Linked DNA regions of Homo sapiens: regions 1 and 3 are each linked to region 2. The links are contacts of gene promoters, found by promoter capture Hi-C in blood cells and fetal thymus (Javierre and others, 2016). All regions are on one chromosome and are shown on one strand. Each heading gives the region's core, a stretch centred on a gene start or on the middle of the fragment in contact. The rest is flanking DNA. Distances are from core to core; before and after follow the strand shown. Region 1 overlaps P3R3URF-PIK3R3 (P3R3URF-PIK3R3 readthrough). Region 2 holds the start of PIK3R3 (phosphoinositide-3-kinase regulatory subunit 3). Region 3 overlaps P3R3URF-PIK3R3 (P3R3URF-PIK3R3 readthrough).

Region 1 (5,005 bases), core at 1,413-3,912, 75 kb before region 2:
TCCCAGGTTCAAGCGATTCTCCTACCTCAGCCTCCCAAGTAGCTGGGATTACAGGCGCCCACCACTATGCCCAGCTAATTTTTTGTATTTTTAGTACAGACAGGGTTTCACCATCTTTTTTTTTTTTTTTTTCCCAGATGGAGTCTCACTCTGTCACCCAGGCATGGAGTGCAGTGGCGTGATCTCGGCTCACTGCAACCTCCGCCTCCAGGGTTCAAGTGATTCTCCTGCCTCAGCCTCCTGAGTAGCTGGGATTACAAGAATGTGCCACCACGCCCAGCTAATTTTGTATTTTTAGTAGAAACGGAGTTTCACTATGTTGGCCAGGCTGGTGTCTCGAACTCCGGACCTCAGATGATCTGCCTACCTCGGCCTCCCAAAGTGCTGGGGTTACAGGCGTAAGCCACAGTGCCCAGCCTAGAACCTACTTCCCCTCAGAGGAAATAGAAATTCCCCACTCAGTTCTAGTATGTAAACAAAGATTCTGATTTTTATGTTTTAGGCAAACATTAATCTGTTCTTGTTAAGATATAGCATTTTACTCATGCCACAGCCAGCCTCTGAGATTTCCAAGGCATTTGTATGGATCAAGAGTCCTACATTCTGGTTTGCTCCACATATTAACTTCAGATTAACTCTGGTACCCCCTACAACTACCAAGGACACTTTCCTAAATTCTTACCATCTTACTGGCCAATTCTCAATTACAAATCTCTAATCTCTTCTTCCACCTCTAGTGTCTCTAGTGCTGGTAGTAACCTGGCACTAACGTCTCCCTCCCCATACACTCCCAGACTACTTACACAAGGTGTTGATCTCGGATCTTTCGCAGCTGGATCAGGTCAGGTTTGATGCTATTCATTTTTTTATCTATTTCTCGGTTGTCCAAAGCTTGATTCTTCAAATCCTGCTCTAGACGCATTTTGCTATCATGAATCTCACCCAGACGTGATTTCAATTTATCATAATTCATCATAATTCTGTAAAAATATTTGACATGTTAAGGCTAAAATAGAAATCAAGCAGACAGATCCTACTGGGTGAGCACGGTCCTAATATCCTTTTTTTTTTTCCCTTGAGATTGAGTCTCGCTCTGTCACCCAGGCTGGAGTGTAGTGGCATGATCTCGGCTCACTGCAACCTCCGCCTCCCGGGTTCAAGCAATTCTCCTGCCTCAGCCTCCCCAGTAGCTGGGATTACAGGCGCATGCCACCACACCCGGCTAATTTTTGTATTTTTAGTAGAGATGGGGTTTTGCCATGTTGACCAGGCTGGTCTCAAACTTCTAACCTCAGGTGATCTGCCTGCCTCAGTCTCCCAAAGTACTGGGATTACAGGCGTGAGCCATTGCACCCAGTGAGGTCCTAATATCTTAAGCGTGGTGAACATTTGTTTTTGCCTGGCCCATATCCATTCCCATTTCTGGTATTAGCACCCTGATGTTCCCTGGAGGTAAGGATTCATTCCCCCGTCTCAGATCCAGGGATGGAAACACACATGGCCCAGACTGGCCAATAAGAATATTCCACTCTATCCCATCCCTACCCTCAGGCCACAGTGACGGTTCAGGAATAGGAATAAAACTCAAACTGACCCAATGAGAGTCAATTCTAGAACATTTGCTAGAACTGTATTGTTAAAATAAATTCTCTCTTTCCACACAAATTGCTAAATTATGAATATGCAGTTCTCATCCCAGCAGCTATACTGTCACTTCACCGGCAATGCCTGCCTGAGGATAAAATCAACCCAGAGAAAAACTGAGCCAAAATACAACATGAGAGAGAATCCCAATAACCTTGTTTGGGCCCTGAATCCAGCAATGACTGAACAAGTAAAGCTATACATTTGATATTCCAGAGGTAGCATAACACAACAGTTAAGAACAATGGTTTTGCAATTAGCCTACCTACATCTGAATCTCTGCTGTCACTTGCTGTGGGGCCATGGGCAAGTTATTTAACTTCTCAGTGCCTTCATTTCCTCATCTGTTTAAAATGGTGATATGGTTTGGCTGTGCCCTCACCCAAATCTCATCTTGAATTGTACTCCCATAATTCCCACATGTTGTAGGAAGGACCCGGGAATAGATAACTGAATCATGGGGGCGGTTCCCCCATACTGTTCTCGTGGTAGTGAATAGGTCTCACAAGATCTGATGGTTTTATCAGGGGTTTCTGCTTTTGCATCTTCCTCATTCTCTCTTTGCCTGCTGCCATCCATGTAAGACGGGACTTGCTCCTCTCCTTGCCTTCCACCATGATTGTGAGGCTTCCCAAGCCACGTGGAACTGTAAGCCTAATTAAGCCTCTTCCTTTTGTAAATTGCCCTGTCTTGGGTATTTCCTTATCAGCAGCATGAAAACGGACTAATTTAGTAAATTAGTACTAGTAGAATGGGGCACTGCTGAAAAGATACCCGAAAATGGGGAAGTGACCTTAAAACTGGGTAACAGGCAGAGGTTGGAACAGTTTGGAGGGCTCAGAAGAAGACAGGAAAATGTGGGAAAGTTTGGAACTTCCTAGTGTTGAATGGCTTTGCCCAAAATGCTGATAGTCATATGGACAATAAGGTCCAGGCTGAGGTGGTCTCAGATGGAGATGAGGAACTTGTTGTGAACTGGAGCAAAGGTGACTCTTGTTACGTTTTAGCAAAGAGATTGATAGCATTTTGCCCCTGCCCTAGAGATTTGTGGAACTTTGAACTTGAGGGAGATGATTTAGGATATCTGGCGGAAGAAATTTCTAAGCAGCAAAGCATTCAAGAGGTGACGTGGGTGCTCTTAAAAGCATTCAGTTTTAAAAGAGAAACAGCATAAAAGTTTGAAAAATTTGCAGCCTGACAATGCAATAGAAAATAAAATTCCATTTTCTGAGGAGAAATTCAAGCCGGCTGCAGAAATTTGCATAAGTAACAAAAAGCCAAAAGTTAATCCCCAAGACAATGGGGGAAATGTCTTCAGGGCATGTCAGAGGTCTTCAAGGCAGCCCCTCCCATCAAGCCCTGGAGGCCTAGAGGAAAAAGGAGTTTCGTGAGCTGGGCCCAGGGTCCCTGAGCTGTGTGCAGCCTAGAGACTTGGTGCCCTGCGTCCTAGCCACTCCAGCCATGGCTGAAAGGGGCCAACATAGGGCTCAGGCCATGGATTCAGATGGTACAAGCCCCAAGTCTTGGCAGCTTCCATGTGGCATTGAGCCTGCAGGTGCACAGAAGTCAAGAATTGGGAACCTCCACCTAGATTTCAGACGTATGGAAACACCTGGATGCCCAGGCAGAAGTTTGCTGCAGGGGCGGGGCTCTCATGGAGAACCTCTGCTGGGGCAGTGTGGAAGGGAAATGCGGGGTCGAAGCCGCCACACAGAGTTCCTACTGGGGCACCGCCTAGTGGCACTGTGAGAAGAAGGCCACTGTCCTCCAGACCCCAGAATTGTAGATTCATTGACAGCTTACACCGTGTGCCTGGAAAAGCCGCAGACACTCAAGGCCACCCTGTGAAAGCAGCCAGGAGGGAGGCTGTACCCTGCAAAGCCACAGGGGCGGAGCTGCCCCAGACCATGGGAACCCATCTCTTGCGTCAGCATGTCCTGGATGTGAGACATGGAGTCAAAGGAGACCATTTTGGAGCTTTAAGATTTGACTGTCCTGCTGGATTTCAGACTTGCATGGACCCTGTAGCCCCTTTGTTCTGGCCAATTTCTTCCATTTGGAACAGGTGTATTTACCCAATGTCTGTACCCCCACTGTATCTAGGAAATAACTAGCTTGCTTTTGATTTTACAGGCTTATAGGCAGAAGAGACTTGCCTTGTCTCAGATGAGACTTTGGACTGTGGACTTTTGAGTTAATGCTGAAATGAGTTAAGACTTTGGGGGACTGTTGGGAATGCATGATTGGTTCTGAAATGTAAAGATAAAGGATTTGGGAGGGGCCAGGGGCAGAATAATATGGTTTGGCTGTGTCCCCACCCGAATCTCCTCTTGAATTGTACTCCCATAATTCCCACATGCTGTGGGAGGGACCAAGGTGAAACAACTGAATCATGGAGGCGGTTTCCCCACTACTGTTCTCATTGTAGTGAGTAAGTTTCACGAGATCTGATGGTTTTATCAGGGATTTCTGCTTTTGCATCTTCCTCATTCTCTCTTTGCCTGCTGCCATCCATGTAAGACGTGATTTGCTCTTCCTTCCCTTCCACCATGATTGTGAGGCTTCCCTAGTCACGTGGAACTGTAAGTCCAATTAAATCTCTTCTTTCTGTAAACTACCCCAGTCTCAGGTATGTCTTTATCAGCAGCATGAAAATGGACTAATACAAATGGGTACCTACAACAGTACTTACTTCACTGGGTTTTTCTGTTAATTAAATGTGACAATACATGTAAAGGACAAAAACATTCCCTGACATTATCTTGGTAAGCACGCAACAGATGACAGCTATAAGCTTTTCCAACACACAACGTTTTGCTATACTCTGAACCCTTATGGTAATGACTGTCTACATTATTCCCTTGTCACTCAATATGTGGCTTTATATTACTATTAAAACTTCATATGCTGGACACACACCTGTAATCCCAGCACTTTGGGAAGCTGAGCGGGGAGGATTGCTTGAGTCCAGGAGTTCAGGACCCCATCTCTACAAAAAGATTTTTAAAAATTAGCCAATGCAGTGGCACTTGCCTGTAGTCCTAGCAACTCGGGAGGCTGAGGCAAGTGGATCCCGTGAGCCCAGGAGGTTGAGGCTGCAGTGAGCCATGATCATGCCACTTCATTCCAGCCTGGGCAACAGAGCAAAACCCTACCTCAAAAAATAAAAAAAATTAAAAATAGGCTGGGCGCGGTGGCTCATGCCTGTAATCCCAGCACTTTGGGAGGCCAAGGCGGGCAGATCACCTGGGGTCAGGAGCTCAGGACCAGCCTGGCCAACTTGATGAAACCCTATCTCTACTAAAAATACAAAAATCAGCCGGGTGTGGTGGCATGCACCTATAATCCCAGCTACTTGGGA
Region 2 (4,528 bases), core at 802-3,301:
GATAATTCACCGTTTGCAAGGACACAGGAAACAATTTCTACATACCTTCTATAAGACAGTTACACTTCTTCACACTTGCATGGCTCAAATCCTTTCAAACGTTTCCAAAAATACAGTCTTATAATAAACGAGGTTCCCCAATGACACACATTTTATTCTGTAGACTTAGCCATAACACGTTTTAAAATACATAAAGAATTCATCCTCGACAGAAACAAGGAGTCACAAAGGCTCTCTACTTATTCAGAATCATTACATAAAACACCATCTGTAACTGCAAACAGGGTTTGAGAAAATCTGACAGCTAATAATCATAAAATGGGGTAGACTTTAAAGGAAAAAAAAGCCAACTTTTCCATTTTGCTTTCCTTTTCCTTTCCTACCAGATACACAAAATGTCTGTAATAGCGTCAGACAGAGCTTTAAAATAAAAATATAGTGCTATATATGTATACTTTACATTACGTGTATAGGAACACATATGTATATATCACACGTTCACAGGAAACAGAAAGGTTCCCTCGTTTTTGTTTTTGCTTTTTCTTTATTCTAGGAATTGAAGTTACATTAAACCCTATCCCATAAATTAAGTTAAATCATCATTAAATTAAAGAGTAATAAAATATTGCACGTAGATTTCTCTGAGCGACTATCTTCTGAGAAGGAAAACCTCAGACTAAGACCATGGCTGAATACGAACGCCCAATCCCTAAAAAAAATCACTAACCGGCATTTGTTTCTGCAAGAGAAAAAGGGAGTCTTACAATGAATAATCACATAACTCAGTTTCAGAAGTTAACCGGGGTAAAACACAACGAACCAAATTAGACAAATGTATGAAAGGACAAGCTTTCAAGAATTCGCCCAAAGTGAAAGACTGGTTTTAACCCCGGGATATAAAACATCCTTTGCAGGTAGAAGAGTCTTTAATTGAAAAAGAAAAAAATAAAATAAAGTGGCGGGCACAAGAAAAACCTGAACGACACGCAAAGGCAAAGTAAAAAATAATGATAATTTTAAAAAGGGGTCTCTCCTCCCACCCCCACTTCCAGCCCCCACCCCCACCTTCGCAGGACAATAGGATCAGGGTCCTAACTGCAAACTTTAAACGTGTAAACCAGAAGCAGTTTTACCGCAGCTGTAACTGCAAATCTCCTCATCCCGAACCTAGCGCACCCAGGAATACTTCTGCCCTGAAAACATCAGCAAGCTCTTGGTAAATACAAATCAGACCCATCACGAGATTCTTTTTTTTTTTCTCCCAAGTACCTGGAGGATCCATTTCAATATAAAATATCAGTTCTGTCGAATAGGGCATCATCACCTCCCTCCAGTCTGCGTCATCGCGGTCCATACTCCACACCGTATTGTACATCGCGCTGTCAGGGGCAGGTCGCCAGGAGATATATAGAAGGCATATATTTTTTATCTGGTATTTAAAAATCTAAAAATATATATCTGCAAAAGTTCCACACGGAAATGTACTTCGGGTTTTCCAACGGCCAGTACCAGTCCGGCCAAACTACCCGAACAGGGTCCTCCCCCTCTCTCCTACAGAACACAACAAAATGCCCCCGAACTTTCAAGCTATGGGCTTTTCTCCTCAGAGGATTACACAGAGGCTTGGGGGACGGAGAGCAGAGGTGTTAAAAAGCGGCTTCCCAAAAATCCTTTCTACACAGTCGCTCTCCGGGGAGAAAAGCTCCCACCGCCTCCAAATCTTTCCGCGGAAGCCACTTTTGTGTCCTTCGAAGGAGGGAGAATGAAGAGGAAAAAAAAGAACACGTTGGGAGAAACCCGGGCAAGTGACAAAGGAAGGCAAAAAAGGGGGCTGGAGATTGCGTTCAAGTTTCGGGGTCCCACTGGTCTGCAGAGAGCGAATCCCCCAGAGGCCGGGACTCGGGCTCCTCTCCGGTCGGTCTCGGAACCGAAGCTGCCGCAGCCTCGGGAATGGGGCCGGCCGGAGAAGTCCAGTCAGCTCGGCTTGTCTGGGCGCTCCCGCCGGGGTGTAAGAACCAACCCGACCGCACCAACTGCCCTCAAGCTCTGCCCGGACTCCAGCCACTAGAGTTTCATTTTAACGGCGCGGAGGGGACACCCTCCCCGCCCCATGCTGCCCACCCGCTGAGGCGCCACCCAACCGCGCCGGGAGGGGGGACAGCAGGCATCACCACCGCCCCTTCCACGCCGTCCCGCCTCGATGTACCGGGATTCTGTCAAGTGCCTGAGAACATGTTCAAAAAGCTGCTCTCCATCTCGACTTTCACGTCTCCCCACCGCTCTCTAGGCTTCGGCTCCCCAATCAGCCATCCGCGCTCTCCCCCAGCCTCAATCAGAATGGTACGATCCGGGCGCTGGCCGCACTCCAGGAGTCAGTGCCGGGAGCACGCGAGCCAGGCGAGGAGGGAGTGGGGCGAGGGAAGAGAGGCAAGGTGGGTGGTGATTGGCTGAGGCCGGTTGCCGGAGCCTGGAGCCTGCGTCTTTTGTCTGCCTTGCTCCTGCGAAGGAGCGGGAGACGGCTGCGCGCCCCAAGCGGGCCAATCAGGAGACAGCCGGCGCCGGCCGGTAAGGCGGCGATTGGTCAGAGCCCAGTTACTAAGCGGGACAAAGGCAGAAGGGGAAAAGAAAAGAGGAGGAAAAAAAAGAAAGAAAGAAAGGAAGAAAACGCAAACGGCGGTTACTGACAGGCTGGGCGAGCGCTCGGGGGCTCAAACTGCCTGGAGACAGGCGGGGCTCCTGCTGAGGCTTGGTCCGCCCGGACGAGTAAGGAGAGGAGCCAGGGAGGACCTGCTGGCGTGAGACGCCTCTGCCCGGTGATTGGCCGCGGGGGAAGGGAGCGGACACAGAGGGGGCACGTTCTGTCACTTGGCGGGGTGCGCGCTCTTCTGGTCCTTAGGAGGTCTCTGGGGAGACTCCTTTCCTACAGACCTCTTCACCTTGCTGGGACAGCCCTCTCCGCACCCTTGACAAGTTGTCAAAGCAATGGTCCCCAAACCCACTTGCCACCTTACCACTCAGGGAGAGGATGTGCCCGTGGCCCCTGCAACCTTCCTGGCTGCTACCTGACCCCACTCCCTGCTTCTCCCCTTGAGCAATTGGACATTTCTGAGGGAGGCATTTCGCAGTTCCTCTGTGCTTCCCACCCAAAGACTTTTGAACCCAGAGGTAACTCCCCACGCCTAAAATAGTGAGAGGTCTCAGCAAGCCCTCCTGCTCGAGTGCTCAAACCAATTAAAAAAAAAAAAAGTCTTGGAATTACAGTGCATGTGTAATTTCTAAGATAAGTCACAGGTGTTGGAATCTCTCACCAAAAGGGCTCTATTCTGTTTCCCTGACAGACCCTCTTCCTCACATACTCATTCCCACCCCCAAAGCTTAAATCTGGGAGATTGGCTTCACTATGAAAATGCTGAATATTTCCATGCATTTCAGAAACAGCTAATTAACTTGCTGGGGAACACTGAATAGCTAAAAGCAGATTTGTGTCTCCTGAAGATTGTGCCTGGAATTGCCATCCTGTATACCCTACAATACAGTCTGAGGAGGCCAAAAACTGCTCCATTTCCTCTTTACACAGGAGTAACAAAGCCCATTGTGTTTGAGTTGACAGCCTGATTTAAGCCCTAGCAAAACCTCCTACCTTGAGCATGTCTGCTATATTGATTCGCCTATGGAAGAGTTGCCACGTTTCACCCTCTACCTCCTAAGGTGGTTCTGCCTTCCTTAAAGATGCCCTGAGTTGAGACAGTTCCTGAGGGCAGACAGTCAAAATGTATATGGACTGGGTATAGAGTAACTGGTTTAAAAGGGCCAGAAAGTATGGATGGACATGGTTGAGCTAAGAAAAGACACCAGGATTCTTATATGCTTTCTTATTATTTCTGAAATCCAAATATGATTTCAACTTTGGGGCAGGACTCATTAATTATAATTTCCTGAACCATTCCTTACAGGTAGAAGATACTGGAAGATCAACTCTAATTTGTGGCTGCCTTCCCAGCAGTCTCTACTTCAGCATATCTGGGAGCCAGAAGCACTCAAGTTTGATAACTCAAAAGACAGAACAATCAGTCAAGGGTGGGTTGGTTTATTTTTGTTCACGGGTGTTCATGTGCATTCCCAAACAAAATGAGGGTGAAGAGAGAGGAAGTGTGGAAAAGATAATGGCTTTCAGATTTCCACAGCACCTTTTGCCTGGACCACTTTTCAGCATTTAGTGGTGGGGTTTCAGTTTCTAATACACAGAGCAATCACCCAGGCTTTTCCCACAGCTAAGGCTTTGAGAGATGAAGTGACGTCCAAGCACAGTATATAATCAAGTGGTCAAGGCTGACACATGGAGTAAAGCTGTGATTCAGTCTTTCCACCTAAAATTGTATGACCCAACTCTCCAACTTAAATAGACCTTTGAATATATCTCCAGAGAATAAGTGATGCAAGAGGCAATGATGAATCAAGGGGAAGCAAACTTTCTTAGTCCTTGAGCTTAAACCAGTGCCCTGCCATGGGGGAAAGCACCTGTGAGATG
Region 3 (4,876 bases), core at 1,234-3,733, 91 kb before region 2:
TGCATGCTACCACGCCCAGCTAATTTTTGTACTTTTAGTAGAGACGGGGTTTCACCACGTTGGCCAGGCTGTTCTCGAACTCCTGACCTCAGGTGATCCACCCGCCTCGGCCTCCCAAAGTGCTGGGATTACAGGCATGAGCCACCACGCCCAGCCCCAAGTAAACAAGTTTGAAGTGTCGGTGAGATACCCAGGAGCCCAGTGGAAACATCCAGCCAGCGGGTAGAGTTCAGAAGAAAGAACTGGGAAGGAGCTAGGAATTTGAGCATCCTAAACACAGAAGTGCGAACAACTCTGGGATTAGGAGAAATCCATAGTTCCTGGCAGTGGTCTTGGGATGCTGTGTAGCTAAAGTGTAGTGGGGAGAAAAGACATAGGCAAGGTCACTTAGAACAACAGGCTGTTCCCTGCCCAATCTGACTTATTTATAATTGAGTACACATGGGTGGGGCCTGAGACATGGATGAGCGCTGCAATATCCTATGCAACAAGAGGTTATCGCATGTTGGCTCATTACGTTCCCAGAATACAGGAAGCTCAACAGTGTGCCTTGGCAGGAGATGACAAGGGCCTGGGGCAATAAGAGGATAGATTATAAAGCTGGGCCCATTTCCCCCTCCCCCAGAGTAGAATGTGGAAACACTTCATTCTGGGCAGAAATATGAGAACCAATAAACAGCTTATTAGGAGTGGGCAGTGAGGTGTGGAGGAAATGGCATTCAGTTTTAATTTTCTCAGAGTCAGTATCTAAGACTTCTGTGTCTGTGTTCGGTGGACAGGACTCTGGCATCATGCCTAGTTGGAGTCAATGTCCTCCCCTAGGAAGAAAAGAGCCTCTGGCTGCCCCAGTACTAGTCTTTTGGTGCTTACTGGAGAGAAGGTTTGGAAGTTTCAAGGGCTGTTCAACACCTGAGTACTCTTCTCTCTTGACCCCCACTCTGCCCCCAGCCCACCCCTTCATAGCATGAAGACAAAAAATTACTTTATTGCAATGTCTTTATTGCATTACTGGAGCAAGTTGGCCAGACTGTCCCCTCTTGGGGAAGGTATTAAACAAAAAGACCAATAAGTATCTCCTCTCGCCTTTCCCCCTACCCTCCCCAACAATTGCACAGCAATGTCTGAACACATCTGGTGACAAGAACAATTTGTAAAGTGGTCTAGCAACTACATTATGAACTGTCCCATCACAAGACATACAGTTGGCTTTCTTGTGAGTCAGATATTTTTACGTAAACTACACGAATTTTCTTGGACACATCAAAGACAACAGAATAGATTTTTCACAAGTAACGGCACCAAAGTCACATGCTGGAATTTGTAAGGAAACGAGGTTGTTTGCCACAAGTGGCTGGAGCTAAAGCAGGTTTGAGCAGTTGGCAGCAGAGGGCCCAAGCAGGCCCCCTATCTGGACCCTCTGGTTTCTGAGGCCACTGAAGCCTCACAGAGGCCTACTCTGGGTTGTTAAATAGCAGCAGAGACCACCTTAGAAAACAGGAATTGCCCAGGTGCAATTCTCAGTTTAAGAGAACACATGGGGCTGATTACTTGTAGCAAAAAAGAGACCCGTGGAAGACACATTGGCTCTCAAAGCTTCTTCAAAGCACATGAGGCCTAAATAAGTGGAGGTCCCATCAAGGCTTGGAGAGGGAGTGAAAGTGTTGGGAGGGCCTCATTCTTGGCCAGATCAGTGGTAAGGACGCAGGCAGTCTATCCAGGCCCGAATCATGGCGTGCCATCTAAGGCCAGGTGGAGACAACACTGTTCTGTGATGAAAGCTTCACCTGGAAACAATGGGCCTAGTACCTGTGTCCAGCCAGCCCCAAGCTGCTTGCATGTCAGTAGCTGGGTTCTCTAGCCAGGGGTATAATGAACCCCTCTGATCTTGGTCTCTCTTTGCCCTCTGCCTCATTGAAACTGCAGTTAAGATGCCAAGACAGTCCCAGGGTCCAGATCATGGGACAGGACATGGCACTAGACTCTCATGAAGGAGGCCAAGACCTGCTCCCAAGTCATGGGCGTAGAGAAGCACCTTGCTACCCTCTCCCCCTCTACACACCAGGCCCAGTGGGTAGTAGACTGGTCCCTATGCCATTTCCACAGGCTCAGGGTCAAGCAAGTCATGTGGCAACTGGTCAGAAAAGATACTGTCAAACCTCTCAAATGACCCCTGGGTCTTAGATCCCACAAAACAATGAATTCAAGAATGAAAAAAAAAATGAAGGAATGTAGGACTGAAAAAAAGCAGCCCTTCTCCACAAGCCAGCCCAAGTGTAGATAAAGATGGTACTTGGTCTCTCCCTGCACACCGCTGGTGTCTGCCCAACAAGGAGCAGACACATTACTGAATACTACAGCCCTGTATCTGTATTTCCATTTTGGTTTAAAAGACACTCAGAACACACTGAAATTTTAGTACCAGATGGGAGGGATTCCTTGCACGTAATCTTGAGCATCCACCTGCTTCAGCAGGTTCAACACCAGGTGCAAAGCCATCCAGGTGTGCCCAACAGCAATTAGCTTGGTATTATTCAGTAAAACTTTCAGTTAAGATTTCAATTGACAGTTTGGGGAAGGGATGTGCTGGCTATTAGTTAAATGACTTTAGAGGGGGGTTCATTTGTCTCTGTCTCACCCAATCCTGAAACTGCAGTGTAACCAAGAAAAAGCCAAAGAGAAGCACTTCCCTTTCTATCCTCGTCACTAGTAACTGGAGGTTTTTCCAAAATTAAAAATCTGTGTCTACATCATGGTCCATATTTTAGACCCTGTCATGGAAATAAGTGCTCAGGTAAACTAATATTTTTCTTTCACCCCCAGAACTAGAGCTTTCCTAGCTGTAAGCCTTATAAACCAAGATGCAGGTACTGGCTTCTCTAGCTCAGCCAGGGTGCCTGACTGCACAGCTTTGGGTTCAAACAGCTGACTCACTCTGAGCCTATTATGGTCCCAGGATTGGCTCAGAGGCAGCTGGACTCTATTTGTCAAATGAGTGTTGACTGATGGGTGTGGGGCATGATGGGGGCAGGAATAGATGCCTGCCCCCACTCCATTTGCCTAGCTTCACTCAGCTGGAAGGCTTAAGCCACATGGAGCAGAAGATTCCTGGCCTAAAATCAAGGCCACTGGAGCAGGAGGGCAGACTGCACATAGCCTTAATGGCAGGATCACAAAAAAAGGCAAAGAGAAAAGCTTCCAGATGGCTTCTACTAACAGTCTAAACACTAAGCCATCTTCTCTCCCTGCAAAAGCTTCAGAAACCACTGTATGGAAGCACATGTGTAATGTGGTGTGACTCTCACCCTGGACCACAGGGCCCCTGGGTCTGTGATTTACTGAGGCACCTGACCACAATCTGACTCCCCTCCTTAGCAACCTATAGCTCCCAAAACCCCATCCAGCAAAGGAGGGGGAAATGAAGGGAAATTAAACCATGTTTACTATTTCTGCAGGGCCTTTAAACTTGGGGAAGCACATATAATAATGTTGTTCTATATTGTTATTTGGTATATCAAGCCATCTAAAAGCACTGCATTGCACCTTTTCTTTACTCATACAAACAAGTTACAAAGGTTTCAAACAACAGATCATTCTTTAGGCTAAGGAAACACCATACAAGCACCAACTTCATTTTATGATTCAAAGCTCACCATCCCCACAAAAAGAATGCTATTCCTCATCTCAGAGAAACAGGCAGGAAGGACAGAAGGGGTTAGTTACAGTGATCAATTTTAGCGTTTGCTAAAACTCACAAATTCTAGTCTTTTTATGTTCAAGTTTTGGTACAGAAGTATACATTCAACTATGAGTGCCACGTTTTCCCATCAAACATTGGTCTGGCAACAAACTGTTTTGTTGGCTTCTGAACATAATACTTCTTCAGAGGGAGGGGCTGGTGAGATGCTGAAGCCTAAATTATGTTGGTAAGAAACAAAATACCTTCAGTTGAAGGTTTTTTTTATCATCTTGGCTTAGATTATTTAAATGAAATCCCAAGCCTCCCCATTTTCCTTTGGTTGTCTTTTTCATCAAATCCCATTCTATCACAAAACCTAAACAGCCTTCTTCGTGGGGGGAAGAGAGACTGCCAAAGCAAAACACAACTCCCAGCAGAGCCATGCCCCTGCTGCACTCTCAAGAGTTAGATTTTAAAAAGACATGGTCTCTTCAGAGGCTTCCAAATACAACCCCACCCGCTATAACCATCAAGCCTAATATTCTGTTGAGGGTGTCTGGCTAAACAAAACAAAAACCCCAATGAAACAGACTTTCAAAAAAAACATCTGCTTCCAGCTTAGTATGTCAGTGCAGCGGCATGGCTGAGTCCTAGAGAACCTCAGGCCTCTAATGCCCCCATCCCGGCCGGCTGCTGCTCGGCCTCTCCACTTCACATTCACAAAATCACTTCTTGTGCAAAACAAGCAGTCTATGTAGAAAGAATGCCCTCATCGTAGTCTAATAAAAACTGTAGAAAAAAATGCCAGAGAACCACCTCTCTTCCCACTTCCTCTTTATCTGCAAAGCGAGGGCATCTGTGCATGAACAGGGTAGGCAAGCCTGACGTTGAGGGAGTCGTTGTGCTGAACCAAGGATGTCTGCTGGTAATGGAGCACTAGCTCCTTCAGAGAGCTGTACAGGTTGTAGGGCTCTGCAAAGCCATAGCCCCGAGCAGTGCTGTAGATCACACAGTGCTTCACTTCCCCATCGGCCCTGCAATGACAAACCACAGAAGAAATGTTAAGGTAGGTAACAATAGATAAAAGGACACTAAATGGCCAGAAGTCTGAGAGCAATTGTTATGCAAACAAGTGTTTTTTGTTAACCAGGCAAAGCTTGTGAAATTGCGTTCCCATTCCCTACAGACTTGGCCACAGAT

The links. The method cuts DNA at HindIII sites, captures the fragments that hold promoters and counts their contacts. A CHiCAGO score of 5 or more calls a contact.
Region 1: a contact is called between a fragment that was not itself captured here and the fragment with the promoter of PIK3R3 in region 2, in 2 of 17 cell types (M0 macrophages and endothelial precursors). The highest score is 5.4, in M0 macrophages.
Region 3: a contact is called between a fragment that was not itself captured here and the fragment with the promoter of PIK3R3 in region 2, in 12 of 17 cell types (total B cells, M1 macrophages, M0 macrophages and 9 more). The highest score is 12.3, in total B cells.

Annotation. Positions count from the first base shown.
Region 1 is chr1:46,054,992-46,059,996 of GRCh38, forward strand. It overlaps P3R3URF-PIK3R3 (P3R3URF-PIK3R3 readthrough), which reads right to left. Exons shown (of 10, transcript NM_001303427.2): 7 at 804-980. PIK3R3 (phosphoinositide-3-kinase regulatory subunit 3) reads right to left here. Exons shown (of 10, transcript NM_003629.4): 7 at 804-980. Among named protein-coding and RNA genes, the nearest start is that of PIK3R3, 75 kb to the right of the region's middle. The HindIII fragment of the contact is 3,547 bases long and covers 890-4,436 here.
Region 2 is chr1:46,130,578-46,135,105 of GRCh38, forward strand. PIK3R3 (phosphoinositide-3-kinase regulatory subunit 3) reads right to left here and starts at 2,052. Exons shown (of 10, transcript NM_003629.4): 1 at 1,270-2,052. The coding sequence starts at 1,375. All of the region lies in intron 1 of P3R3URF-PIK3R3 (P3R3URF-PIK3R3 readthrough), which reads right to left. LOC101929626 (a long non-coding RNA gene) reads left to right here and starts at 2,794. Exons shown (of 3, transcript NR_125987.1): 1 at 2,794-2,813; 2 at 3,954-4,077. RefSeq lists enhancers at 1,315-1,364, 2,605-2,834. The HindIII fragment of the contact is 2,525 bases long and covers 848-3,372 here.
Region 3 is chr1:46,039,162-46,044,037 of GRCh38, forward strand. P3R3URF-PIK3R3 (P3R3URF-PIK3R3 readthrough) reads right to left here. Exons shown (of 10, transcript NM_001303427.2): 10 at 979-4,710. The coding sequence ends at 4,512. PIK3R3 (phosphoinositide-3-kinase regulatory subunit 3) reads right to left here. Exons shown (of 10, transcript NM_003629.4): 10 at 979-4,710. The coding sequence ends at 4,512. Among named protein-coding and RNA genes, the nearest start is that of PIK3R3, 91 kb to the right of the region's middle. RefSeq lists enhancers at 3,885-4,729, 4,456-4,515, 4,730-4,876. The HindIII fragment of the contact is 1,414 bases long and covers 1,777-3,190 here.